Regions from separate parts of the Homo sapiens genome. Here region 2 is linked to region 1. The links are contacts of gene promoters, found by promoter capture Hi-C in human tissues and cell types (Jung and others, 2019). All regions are on one chromosome and are shown on one strand. The core of a region is centred on a gene start or on the middle of the fragment in contact, and the rest is flanking DNA. Distances in the headings are between cores, read along the strand shown. Region 1 holds the start of MOS (MOS proto-oncogene, serine/threonine kinase). Region 2 has its middle 40 kb from the start of MOS.

What was found. The method cuts DNA at HindIII sites, captures the fragments that hold promoters and counts their contacts. A contact is called where the count stands out against the background at its distance.
Region 2: a fragment that was not itself captured here is called in contact with the fragment with the promoter of MOS in region 1 in 3 of the 25 tissues and cell types used here (H1 embryonic stem cells, aorta and stomach).

What each region holds. Positions count from the first base shown.
Region 1 is chr8:56,111,491-56,118,373 of GRCh38, reverse strand. It overlaps MOS (MOS proto-oncogene, serine/threonine kinase), which reads left to right and starts at 4,392. Exons shown (of 1, transcript NM_005372.1): 1 at 4,392-5,432. The coding sequence starts at 4,392. The coding sequence ends at 5,432. RefSeq lists enhancers at 305-805, 4,513-5,013. The HindIII fragment of the contact is 8,406 bases long and covers 354-6,883 here.
Region 2 is chr8:56,150,268-56,156,975 of GRCh38, reverse strand. No RefSeq gene overlaps it. Among named protein-coding and RNA genes, the nearest start is that of MOS, 40 kb to the right of the region's middle. The HindIII fragment of the contact is 7,248 bases long and covers 276-6,708 here.

The sequences.
Region 1 (6,883 bases), core at 3,143-5,642:
CATCTACAGCTTAACTTTTTAGTCTTAAAAAAGGCAAAAGTGAAATTTCGACGATGAAATCCACGGTTGTAACCAGCAATACCACACTTGCACGGTTGCAATACTCGCGCTCTTCGCACTGTAACCTCTGGAATCCACTGTAACCTCTCGAATCCGCTGTCACCCGAGATCTCTTAACCTGGCGGTCCCCTGCCAGGACTCGGGCGGCCGTCAAGAGTGCGCAGGCGCAAGCGCGGCCGCCGTCGGTGGGGTTTTATGTGCTGTTGAGACTGCTGTTGAGCTTCTGGGCCTTTTTAAGACTGCCTTCCAAAAGACGACGTGATGACTCTAAAGAGAAAGGAAAATTTGTTGCGTACGCAGAAGGGCAGGCTGGGCGCACTCTGAGCGTCTTTCGGGGACCGACGGCCTCGCCCACGTGCTTCCGGGCACCAGCGCGCCCAAAGCCCGTGCACTAGGAAACGCACAAAAGCACCAGCGGGCGAGCCCGAGGGCGAGCCCACGGGTAGCCAGGAGGCGGCGAGGGCGGCTTGTCTTCCAGAGACTGGGGAATCAAGAAAGGCAGAGCCACCTCCTCGGCCCCAGCGCAGCAAGTGCAGGAGGCAGGGAGGGCGCAGCGCCCCGCCGTCCACGGTACCCGTGGAACCCGGTGCGCGCCCCGGGAGCTGGGGCGGCTCAGGCCCAGCGTGCCCAGAAAGCCAACCACGTTGGTCAGGAGGACGTTCTCCCACTATCCGCGATCCTCAGGCTCTGATTAAAGTCAAATTAAAAGGAGCTATCCGTTCCGGTATCTGTTGTTACTCTTGTGATAAATATGGTGTTTGATACGAAAGTATCTTAATAGTCATGCTGCCAATCAAAGAACAAAACACGTAAAGCCTGTGCGCTAAGAACACGAGAGCATTTCGCTCCTCAGGAGGTGCAGTTTATCTTGTCTCCTTTGTTTCATATATAATTCCAAGGAGAATTCCTTGTTATCAACACATTTTGCTCTTTGCCTTTGGGGGATGACATAGGCATATTGCATTTGATCAGATTAGTGTTAACCTTCCACCCACGTTTTTACTACATGCTGTACCATTAATACAGCAGGATTTTATACCTTTAACCGCAAAATTCAAGAGCAGAAAAATACTCAAATTGTATGTTAGTTTAACATGAAAACGAGTTATTTCAGCCCTGATAGGATACTTTTAAACCAATACTACCTAACAAATATGTTTCTTATTCGTATAAGCCCATACACATGGTTTTTTAAATGAGTTTTATAAATAATAATTAGCATTGAGGCCCTGATCTAAGTATTTGAAACTCTGTTACTCTTCACAACAATCCTGAGATGGGCATATTTTCCTCATTTTGCAGATAAGGAAACAGGCACTGGGATGGTAAGAAACCCAGGCCATCTGGCCCCTAATAGCCTTTTACCACCATGCTAAAGCTTTACCCATTTTTGAGATCCAAAATATTACATAGTGCACACATATTTGGTAACCAAATCAGGATTAAACATTAAAGTTAAGGGCCAAGCACAGTGCCCTGTAATCCTAGCATTTTGGGAAGCTGAGGCGGGCAGATCGCTTGACCTCAGGAGTTCAAGACCAGCCTGGAAAACATGGTGAAACCCCATCTCAACAAAAAAATACAAAAATAGTTGGGTGTGGTGGTGTGTGCCTGTGGTCCCAGCTACTTGGGAGGCTGAGGTGGGAGGATCGCTTGAGCCAAGGAGGCAGAGGTTGCAGTGAACCAAGATCACACCACTGCACTCCAGCCTGGGTGACATAGTGAGACGCTGTCTCAAAAAGAAAAAAGCAAAATTAAAGTAAGAACATAATAAGAAATATGTTTGGCACTGTGTTACGGGGAGAAAAAATCAATAGGGAGATAAATCCTGCTTTCAGGGTAAGTGCAATTTGCTGAGTAAAAGAAATATTTTAAGATACCTTAAAAAAGAAAACAAAGGCTGTTGTAAATTGGATATTCAATTAAATATTCTTGGGCAGATTGGCAGATGATAGATCTAATGAACTTGGGGTTTATAAATACACAGAATGCCACATTTTCACTAATACCTTATGTTTTGGGTAAAGAGTAAAACCAACTTTGAAAATGAATTGTGTATGCAATTATCTTAAAAATAAAGATTATATAATAAGTCACATTATCTTGCATTATGTGTAATATCTAGGGGGTTAAGGCACTCTCATTCTGCTAATATTCACAGCACTCCTATTATATAACCATTTCAGAGCCCTGAATTATAATCCTAACTAGGTGACAGTTACTGAGTAAATTTTGCAATGTAGATTTATTATAGAATATAATTGTATTACTTTTTCTCTATTCATTGGCATCCTTTTATATTTGGGGTTTGACACAATTGCACACAACAATCTTTCTACTAAAATATTCCATAGAGTTGGCCAGGCATGGTGGCTCACGCCTGTAATCCTAGCACTTTGGGAGGCTGAGGCAGGTGGATCACCTGGGGTCAGGAGTTTGAGACCAGCCTGGCCAACATGGTGAAACCCCATCTCTACTAAAAATACAAAAGTTAGCTGGGCATGGTGGCATGCGCCTGTAATCCCAGCTACTCGGGAGGCTGAGGCGGGAGAATCGCTTGAACCCAGGTGGCGGAGGTTGCAGTGAGCGGAGATCGTGCCATTGCACTCCAGCCTGGGCAACAAGAGCGAAACTCTGTCTCAAAAAAAAAAAAAAGATTGAGGCTCAAGCAGGTTAAATATTATACACACACTAGATCACATACTAAGCCACACAGGTTGTATAGAATAGAAATCCTATTCCAGGGCTTCACAGACCTCAAATTGTTTCTGTAAATGGTTCATGTTTATTAATTTACCTTCTCAAAGTCAATATACTTCAAAAACAGAACTGCTATCATTAAAATGTGGTTACACATAACCTAACACATAAGTGCTTTAGAAGAAGGGAACTTTACCATTTGATTTTTTAAAATATAGATCCTAACACTTTTGTGTGTGTGTGTTTTCTCATGAATATGGTAATATTATTGGTCCTTTTTCCAAAGATATGGTATGAAATTAATTTTTTGCTTAGAGTCAGGATCTTGCTCCATCATCCAGCCTGGTGTGCAGTGGCACGATCATAGCTCACTATAGCCTCAAACTCCTCAGTTCAAGTCTCCTCCCGCCCCAGCCTCCAAAGTAGCTAGGACTATAGGAGTGCACCACCACACTCAGCTAACTTTATTATTATTTTTTGTAGAGGCAGGTCTCAAATTCTTGGCCTCAAGTGGCCCTTCCACCTTAGCCTCCCAAAGCACTGGTATTATAGGCATAACTCACTGCACTTGGTAGAAAATTAATTTTCATTATAAAAATCAGAAAGAAAGATCTTATTGTCTGATGGCCAATACCCTGAATTTCATTCCAACTTCTGGTTTTCTACATTATATGTAGGTACCAGTGATTTTGTGCCATTTTTATTTCTTCAGATTTTTCCTCTTCTACAATTCTCCCATATGTGTTATTATTTGAAGCCCTGATCACAGCTCTGAATCATTTCTATTCTTTTGTCTCCCCCAACTCTGGTTCAAAACTTCGGTAACTCATTTGCTACGAAGTCTAGAATCTCTCTTGCAAGTGAGCTGACCGGTTGGGCCAAATCGCCTTGGAAGGGAAGGATTGTTAGGAAGTCAGTATGTTGCTAAGATGTCTTGCTAATTTGCTGTGTAAGCTGCATAGAGTGTCAGGGGATTCTCCTTTCCACTGATGAATTTAGGTGTGTGTTATGACCTGTATCAGTGATTCTATTTGGATTGATTAAGGTTGCAATTTTTTATCCATATGAATGTTGCACCTAGTTTTTCCCTGTAATTGGTTAAACAAATGTCTGCTGTTTGCATTTTAACTCTTAGCCAATACCTGCTGGAAGTGATTTAATGCAGCTGGAGAATGACACTAACAATCATTACAGCCTGCAAAGTGTGAAACAATTTCATTGTGCTTTGTGGTCTCTTTAGTCTGAGGACTGATAATGTGCAGCGGATGAGACTTGAAAAAAACGTATTTTATTATAATTTAAGAAATAATGTAAAAGAGGGGTGAGTTCTGAGGCAGCTCCATGCTGTTTGTCTGGCATGAGCTTGTTTTTATAAGAATTCACTTCAAGTGTGGAAGGGAAATGCTTTCATCTGAAAGGGATAGCTGTGCTTCATTCCGGTTTCTCCCTCCATCTGATAAAAACTCTTGCTGAGTGACAGCACAGATGTAGCTCATTTGGAACAAGTGAAGGAAAAGGAGAAAAGGGATGAGGTGGAGCGAAGGAGTAGTCAGTCATGTTTCCAAAGTCCCGCGGTTTCCCCTAGTCTCTTCATTCACTCCAGCGGCCCTGGTGTCCCCCTGCAAAGTGCGATGCCCTCGCCCCTGGCCCTACGCCCCTACCTCCGGAGCGAGTTTTCCCCATCGGTGGACGCGCGGCCCTGCAGCAGTCCCTCAGAGCTACCTGCGAAGCTGCTTCTGGGGGCCACTCTTCCTCGGGCCCCGCGGCTGCCGCGCCGGCTGGCCTGGTGCTCCATTGACTGGGAGCAGGTGTGCTTGCTGCAGAGGCTGGGAGCTGGAGGGTTTGGCTCGGTGTACAAGGCGACTTACCGCGGTGTTCCTGTGGCCATAAAGCAAGTGAACAAGTGCACCAAGAACCGACTAGCATCTCGGCGGAGTTTCTGGGCTGAGCTCAACGTAGCAAGGCTGCGCCACGATAACATCGTGCGCGTGGTGGCTGCCAGCACGCGCACGCCCGCAGGGTCCAATAGCCTAGGGACCATCATCATGGAGTTCGGTGGCAACGTCACTTTACACCAAGTCATCTATGGCGCCGCCGGCCACCCTGAGGGGGACGCAGGGGAGCCTCACTGCCGCACTGGAGGACAGTTAAGTTTGGGAAAGTGTCTCAAGTACTCACTAGATGTTGTGAACGGCCTGCTCTTCCTCCACTCGCAAAGCATTGTGCACTTGGACCTGAAGCCCGCGAACATCTTGATCAGTGAGCAGGATGTCTGTAAAATTAGTGACTTCGGTTGCTCTGAGAAGTTGGAAGATCTGCTGTGCTTCCAGACACCCTCTTACCCTCTAGGAGGCACATACACCCACCGCGCCCCGGAGCTCCTGAAAGGAGAGGGCGTGACGCCTAAAGCCGACATTTATTCCTTTGCCATCACTCTCTGGCAAATGACTACCAAGCAGGCGCCGTATTCGGGGGAGCGGCAGCACATACTGTACGCGGTGGTGGCCTACGACCTGCGCCCGTCCCTCTCCGCTGCCGTCTTCGAGGACTCGCTCCCCGGGCAGCGCCTTGGGGACGTCATCCAGCGCTGCTGGAGACCCAGCGCGGCGCAGAGGCCGAGCGCGCGGCTGCTTTTGGTGGATCTCACCTCTTTGAAAGCTGAACTCGGCTGACTGAAAACCTGGTCAAGATAAGTTTTTGTCTGATTCTATTTGTTTTTAAAGGAAGTGGAGATGTCGAAGAAAACATATTTGTAGGATGGAGTTTTAGAAAATAAAGTTACTAAAAACTCCTTTAGTCTCCAGTGCTTTTTCTAGGACACATTAGCAAAGCTACAAGTCTAGTACCTGTTGTCTCAGTACTGTTAGTAACTAATCTTATTCATATAGTCATGTGCTTTGCTTTCCATTGCTAGTATTTCATTTATTTAAATTTGTTATTGATAAAAGTTTGTCCAAAATAGAACTCCACTGCAGAAATGTCAAAATTTTCTATAAATCCATATATATCCCATACCTACCACATAAATTCCAACTATTAATGGTGTAGTTGCTCCCACACCAAATCAGTAAAAACTTTTAAAAAAATAAGTAATGCTTTCCTACTACTCCCCCCAGTAAAACTTCTTGTTTGTAATGACCTTCACTCATAAAAGTCATACACTGAGGTACATTTACATTCAAAGGAATTATATCATAAATGACTTATTGTAATATCTTTAACTTGTGCATTGCAATGAGTAGAAACATTTTGCTAAAACACTTCTAAACTGGGTCATTTTTACCTGGTATTGGGACTCAGAAGTAGAAGATAAAGATTATATGATGTGAGAGGAAAATGTAGGAGTAGAAGGTAAAGATTATATGATGTCAGGAATCATGAAATTTAACATTTGGATGGAAGAGAACAGACAAATAGAACTAGATTGCCCACTCTAGACATCAAAACAATGGATGTTGGTACATAGGATTTAAAGGAGAAGGTGATTGGATTTTGTCATTGGGACAGCTTTGACTTTCTTTTAGCAATAGCAGTTTCTGTGCATGGTGGAAAGCAAGGCTGATGCAATGGCTGGCAGAGGGAATGGCAAGGCCCTGAAGCAGAGGCTGTGCATGCACTGTTAAGGAGGGAGAGGCAGGAAGCTTAAAAGGGGGTCAGAGACACAGAAATGTTTTCAGATTTTTTATCTGGTATCATTTAGTTTTAGGTTGAAAGAAATAATTTTATTTGTAAAATGAGCCACCAGAGGCAAAGATAATTGATAAAGTTTAGATACTTGTAGAAGGGATGAAGCATAGTACCTAGGGGAAGAGATTGTCATCTTGGAGAGAAAGGGCATCTCTTCCCAGGATGGGAGCCAAGGGTGGGGGCACACTGGTATTATAGACACATTTACCCTAGGAAAAAGGGGACTGGGGAAGCACACATCTGTGAACTTCTATTTTTTTTCTGTTAAGAGTGGTTGAGGGTAGGGGAGTCTACAGAGTGAGAACATGGTTTGAAACTGTTCTTCAGAAAAGCAAAAGGGAGCTGTCTGTGGCCATGTAAAACACTGACAGAGTGCTGCTAACTCTGTCCAGGTAGTTGGGGGAACAAACCACCTATACCGATAAAGAATTCCCTT
Region 2 (6,708 bases), core at 2,650-5,149, 39 kb before region 1:
GTTTTCATCTTTGTTGAAACAGGTTGGCATTTTGGGAACTATCTGCTTGTTGTCGACACATTACTGGATTCTCTATGCTAATACTTTGTTTAAACATTTGACTCCATATCAATATGTGAAATCGGTACCTAGTTTCCTTTTTACTGAATTTATTAGCCTTTGGAACTCAAGTTATTTTGGCTTTAGAAAGACTGGTTGGGCGGGGAGGAGGGTGGAGGATGGGGCTGATTTTCTTGCCGTTCTGGAAGAGCTTAACTATGGGAAATTCAGCCTGCTCTATAAAAGGCGGATGGTGCTTGAGGCGCCCCTTCCTCAGGGCAGTTCCTCCTTCCCATCTTTACTCAGGCAATTGCTCACTTCAAATGCTCCAGTTGTTCTTGGATCCATTTGGGGACTTGGAATTGCCAGGAAATCGCCTATTCCCTGCAGAGTCTCACCTGTGCTGCCACAGGATTTGCATGCTGAGAGTCTTTCATCTCCACTGAAAGGAGACTCCCTTTTATGTCTGTCGCCCTTCTAGTCTGACTTCACCAAGCTGACACTCAAAAAATCTCACCATCATTTGTGATGTGAGATTTGTTTGCTTTAATTTTATGTGTGTGATAGTTTTATGTGTGTGATAGTTTACTATTGGTTTTCAATTTTCACCTAATCTAACATTCTTTGTCTTTAATGAGTTTATTCAGTTCATTCATAGTTAAGACTGATTTTATTCCTCTTACTCTGTGCTTATTACTTTAAGGATGGTTTCTCTTTTTCGTTTACCTTATTTTTCTGAGTTTGATAGAGTTGTTAATCATTCCACTTCTTCCCTTTTTTAACTTTGATGTTGCTTTGTATGTTTTAGTCTCTTTAATCACTACAGTCCCTTTTCCCCTGCTTTTTATTTTTTGTTTGTTTTGTTTTTGTGTTTTTGAGATGGAGTCTTGCTCTGTTGCCCAGGCTGGAGTGCAGTGGCGCGATCTCACTCACTGCAACCTTCCCCTCCCGGGTTCAAGCCATTCTCCTGTCTCAGCCTCCCAAGTAACTGGTATTACAGGTGAGTGCCATCACGCCTGGCTAATTTTTTGTATTTTTAGTGGAGACGGGGTTTCGCCATGTTGGCCAGGCTGGTCTCGAACTTCTGACCTCAGGTGATCAGTCTGCCTCCGCCTCCCAAAGTGCCGGGATTACAGGTGTGAGCCACCACGTCCGGCCTTCCCCTGCTTTTTAATTCTTATCACACATGACTCTTCTTTTATTTGTAGATGAAAATACGAACTATTTTCCTCCATTGAGAACGCCCCATAACACACTAATTCTTCCCTACTCCTTTTCTCTACCCTGTTCCTCACAAATGGACCCATTTACCACCCCCACCTACACACACCCCATGGCACACTCTAATATTTTGCAAGGAAACTTTAGCATTATTATTTTCCATAACTCTGGATGACCATCTAATTAAATGTATTCTGATGGCGGATTAAGTGCTATAATCTTTATTTCGTTCTTTATTATCATTTCTCTTTCTCTATTGAGATTTCCTATGTGTTCATTCAGTGAGCATGTACTTTTATGTCTTTCAGTATCACCTTCAGATCCTTTTCTGCTGATCCCAGCCATTGCTCCTTCCCAGGGTCTTCCCACGGATCACCTTTTCTCTTGTCTATGGCTCACATGTTCCTGTTCGTCGTTGTTGTTGTTGTTTTGTTTTGTTTTGTTCTGAGACGGAGTCTTGCTCCCTCACGCAGGCTGGAGTGCAGTGGCGCTATCTTGGCTCACTGCAACATCCGCCTCCCAGGTTTAAACGATTCTCCTGCCTCAGTCTCCCAAGTAGCTGCGATTACAGGTGAGTGCCACCACACCCAGCTAATTTTTGTATTTTTAGTAGAGACGGGGTTTCACCATGTTGGCCAGGCTGGTCTCGAACTCCTGACCTCAGGTGATCCACCTGCCTGGGCTTCCCAAAGTGCTTGCGATTACAGGCATGAGCCGCCTCGCCCAGACTCTGATATATAGATTCTTTTAGCCTAAATTTGGCCCCTTGGGGTCTGCCCATTGTATGGGTACAAGAGTCAGACAGAAATGTGGGCAAAGTTTATATACAGAATTTGCCTCCTGTTCTGGGTCTCTCTGCTTTCTGGGATTCTCACCTCCTCCTTCACTTTCCAGCTGCTGTTTTCCCTCCAAACTCTATTGTCTGATTTTTCAAGTCAGTAAGACTACAAAGTTCTATCTGAGATTTAGTTGCCCCGGGAGTGTGATACACTTGGAAAGTGAATTTTATTTGCCTTGGTTTATAATATCTGCATCTGAAAAACGTATGGAATCTGTTAATTCTCAGAAAAAGTTCCCAGTTTTTATGGGTTTATGGCCTTTACATACAATAGGAATGAAGGATTTTGTGTGTGTGTGTGTGTGTGTGTGTGTGTGTGTGTGTGTGTGTGTAATCTTTGTAGGTAGCAAAGATTCTGTGTGATGCCTAGGTCATATAAGTCTATGATTAACTTTATAACAAACTTTCATCCTGTCTTCCAAAATGGCTGTACCAGTTTTTTATTCCCATAAATAATGAATGAGAATTTCTGTTGCCCCACATTCTTAAGCTGTTTTGATATTGGTCTCAGGGGGTTTTAGCTAATTGTTGTTTTAATTTACATTTCCCAATAACAAATGATGTTGAGAACCTTTATATGTTTATTTTCCAACTGCATAAAACATTTTTAGTAAAATATCTGTTCAGATCCTTTGTCTATTTTTTATTGGATTAATTTTGTATTAGGTTGATTTTTTTATTGTTGAGTTTTAAGAATTCCTTATGCATTCTAGATATGAATGCTTTATCAGATAAACGATTTACAAACATTTTCTCCCAGTCTGTGGCTGGTCTTTTCATTGTTTCAACAGTATCAAAAAAAGCAAAAGTTTTCCATTTTTGTAAAGTCCAATTTATGTATTTTTTTCTTTTGTGGATTGGGCTTTTGAAATTGTATCTAAAAATTTATAACCAAACCTAAGGTCATGAAGATATTCTAGATTTTTTTCTATAGGTTGTGTATTGTTATGTTTTACATGTAGACCATGATTTAATTTTTGTATAAGATGTAAAGTATATTAGGTTTGAGGTTCGTGTGATTTGGGTTTTTTTTTTTTTTTTTTTTTTGCAAATGGATGGTCATTTGTTTTAGGACCGCTTGTTCATTTCTGGCTTTTCTATTCTGTTCTATTGATGTGTGTATTTATCACTTCACCAGTCTCACACTATCATAATTACTATAATAGTCTTGAAATCAGGACACATGCATCTTCCGAGTATATTTTCCTTTTTAAGAGTTGCCTTGGCTATTCCTTTGGTTCTGTGTACATTACATAGATTGTATATATTTTAGAATCTACATATTGATACCTATTAAAAAGTTTCTTTGGATTTTTATTTGGGTTGTGTTGCATATATAATTTGGGAAACATGAACACCTTTCAAATATTAAGTCTTTCAATCCATGAACTTAGTATCTTTCTTCAGTCATTTAGATCTTCTTTGTTTCATTGGTATTGTATAGTTTTCTACATACAAATCTCCCACATATATTATAAGACTTATATCTAAGTACTCCTTTAGTGTTATTGTAAATGGTATTTTTTTAAATTTCAGATTCCAGTTTCTATTGGTGATGTATAAGAATAAAATTGACTTTTGTATATTAACCTTATATCCTGTGACCTTGCTAAACTCACTTATTAGTTCCAGGTAGGGGTGTGTGTGTGTGTGTGTGTGTGTGTGTGTGTGTTTCTTGCTTTCTGCTGTATATGCCTTTTATTCCTTTTTCTTGCCTTATTGAACTAGCTAGAACTTCTAAGATGATGTTAAGTAAATGTGTTAATTAAAAACACCTTTGCCTTTTTCTGTATTTTTATAGGGAAAGTATTCAGTCTCTCACCATGAAGTATGATGTTAGTTGGAAGTTTTTCATAAACATCTTTTATTAAGTTAAGGAAATTCCTTTCAACTTCTAGTTTGTATGAGTTTTTTAAAATTATGAGTAGATGTTGAATTTTGTTGAATGTTTGTTCTTCATTCACTGATATGTTTTTTCTTATCTAGTCTACTCATATAGTGAGTTGCACTGATTGATTTTGAATGCTGAACCAGCCCTATATTCCTGAGATGAGCCCAACTTCGTTGCGCAGTATTATCCTTTTTTATGGACTACTGGATTTTATTTGCTAATATTTTGTTAGGGATTTTCATGTCTGTGTTCATGAGAGATGTTGATCTGAAGTTTTCTTGTGAATATATGAGGAAAAGTGTGTATATATGTGTGTGTGTATCTATCTCTATAGATATAGAGATATATATACATACAGATAGATATATCTCTACCAGTCCATAGTTATGCATCAGCAAATTTTAATACAACAACTCAGAGTTCAGTCTAACCTTCCCCCTTTTTAAATATTAACTCTCTTCTCCTGGTTCTTATTATCCACAATGTATTTACTTACTTACACAATTTTATAATATACATAAAAGTACTTCATAATTGCTAACCCATATCTACTCACAAGAGCAGCATAGTACTTGTTTACAGTTCTTTTGGTCTTTACCCCAAAGGCGTGTAGTCAAAATACTGTGTTCACAGTTACCCCCCATCACTTTCAGTTTAGTCATGTTATCCGTTTAAAATATAGCTGGGTTTGGGAGAGGTTCCAAGATGGCCGAATAGGAACAGCTCCAGTCTACAGCTCCCAGCATGAGCGACGCAGAGTACAGGTGATTTCCGCATTTCCAACTGAGGTACCAGGTTCATCTCACTGGGACTTGATGGACAGTGGGTGCAGCCCACGGACCATGAGCCAAAGCAGGGCAGGGCATCACCTCACTCGGGAAGTGCAAGGGGTTGGGGAATTCCCTTTCCTAGCCAAAGGAAGCCATGACAGATGGTACCTGGAAAATCGGGACACTCCCACCCTAATACTGTGCTTTTCCAATGGTCTTAGCAAATGGCACACCAGGAAATTATATCCCGCACCTAGCTCGGAGGGTCCTATGCCCATGGAGCCTCGCTCACTGCTAGCAAAGCAGTCTGAGATCGAACTGCAAGGCAGCAGCAAGGCTGCGCAAGGGGCATCTGCCATTGCTGAGGCTTGAGTAGGTAAACAAAGCGGCTCAGAAGCTCGAACTGGGTGGAGCCCACTGCAGCTCAAGGAGGCCTGCCTACCACTGTAGACTCCACTTCTAGGGGCAGGGCATAGCTGAACAAAAGGCAGCAGAAACTTCTGCAGACTTAAATATCCCTGTCTGACAGCTTTGAAGAGAGTAGTGGTTCTCCCAGCATGGAGTTTGAGATCTGAGAACGGACAGACTGCCTCCTCAAGTGGATCCCTGACCCCAGGGGAGCCTAACTGGCAGGCACCTCCCAGTAGGGACCAACTGACACCTCATACGGCTGGGTGTCCCTCTAAGACAAAGCTTCCAGAGGAAGGATCAGGCAGCAACATTTGCCATTCTGCAATATTTGCTGTTCGGCAGCCTCCGCTGGTGATAACCAGGCAAAAAGGGTCTGGAGTGGACCTCCAAAAAGGGTCTGGAGTGGACCTCCAGCAAACTCCAACAGACCTGCAGCTGAGGGTCCTGACTGTTAGAAGGAAAACTAACAAACAGAAAGGACATCCACATCAAAACCCCATCTGTACATCACCATCATCAAAGACCAAAAGTAGATAACACCACAAAGATGGGGAGAAACCAGAGCAGAAAAGCTGAAAATTCTAAACATCAGAGCGCCTCTTCTCCTCCAAAGGAATGCAGCTCCTCGCCAGCGATGGAACAAAGCTGGATGGAGAATGACTCTGAGGAGTTGAGAGAAGAAGGCTTCAAACGGTCAGTAATAACAAACTTCTCCAAGCTAAAGGAGGATGTTTGAACCCATCGCAAAGAAGCTAAAAACCTTGAAAAAAGATTAGACCAATGGCTAACTAGAATAAACAGCTTAGAGAAGACCTTAAATGACCTGATGGAGCTGAAAACCTTGGCAAGAGAACCACGTGATGCATGCACAAGCTTCAGTAGCCAATTCGATCACGTGGAAGAAAGGGTATCAGTGATTGAAGATCAAATGAATGAAATGAAGAGAGAAGAGAAGTTTAGAGAAAAAATAGTAAAAAGAAATGAACAAAGCCTCCAAGAAATATGGGACTATGTGAAAAGACCAAATCTACTTCTGATTGGTGTACCTGAAAGTGATGGGGAGAATGGAACCAAGTTGGAAAACACTCTGCAGGATGTTATCCAGGAGAACGTCCCCAACCTAGCAAGGCAGGCCAACATTCAAATTCAGGAAATACAGAGAATGCCACAAAAATACTCCTCGAGAAGAGCAACTCCAAGACACATAATTGTCAGATTCACCAAAGTTGAAATGAGGGAAAAAATGTTAAGGGCAGAGAGACAGAAAGGTCGGGTTACCCACAAAGGGAAGCCCATCAGACTAACAGCTGATCTCTCTGCAGAAACTCTACAAGCCAGAAGAGAGTGGGGGCCAATATTCAACATTCTTAAAGTAAAGAATTTGCAACCCAGAATTTCATATCCAGCCAAACTAAGCTTCATAAGTGAAGGAGAAATAAAGTCCTTTACAGACAATCAAATGCTGAGAGATTCTGCCACCACCAGGCCTGCCTTACAAGAGCTCCTGAAGGAAGCACTAAACATGGAAAGGAATAACA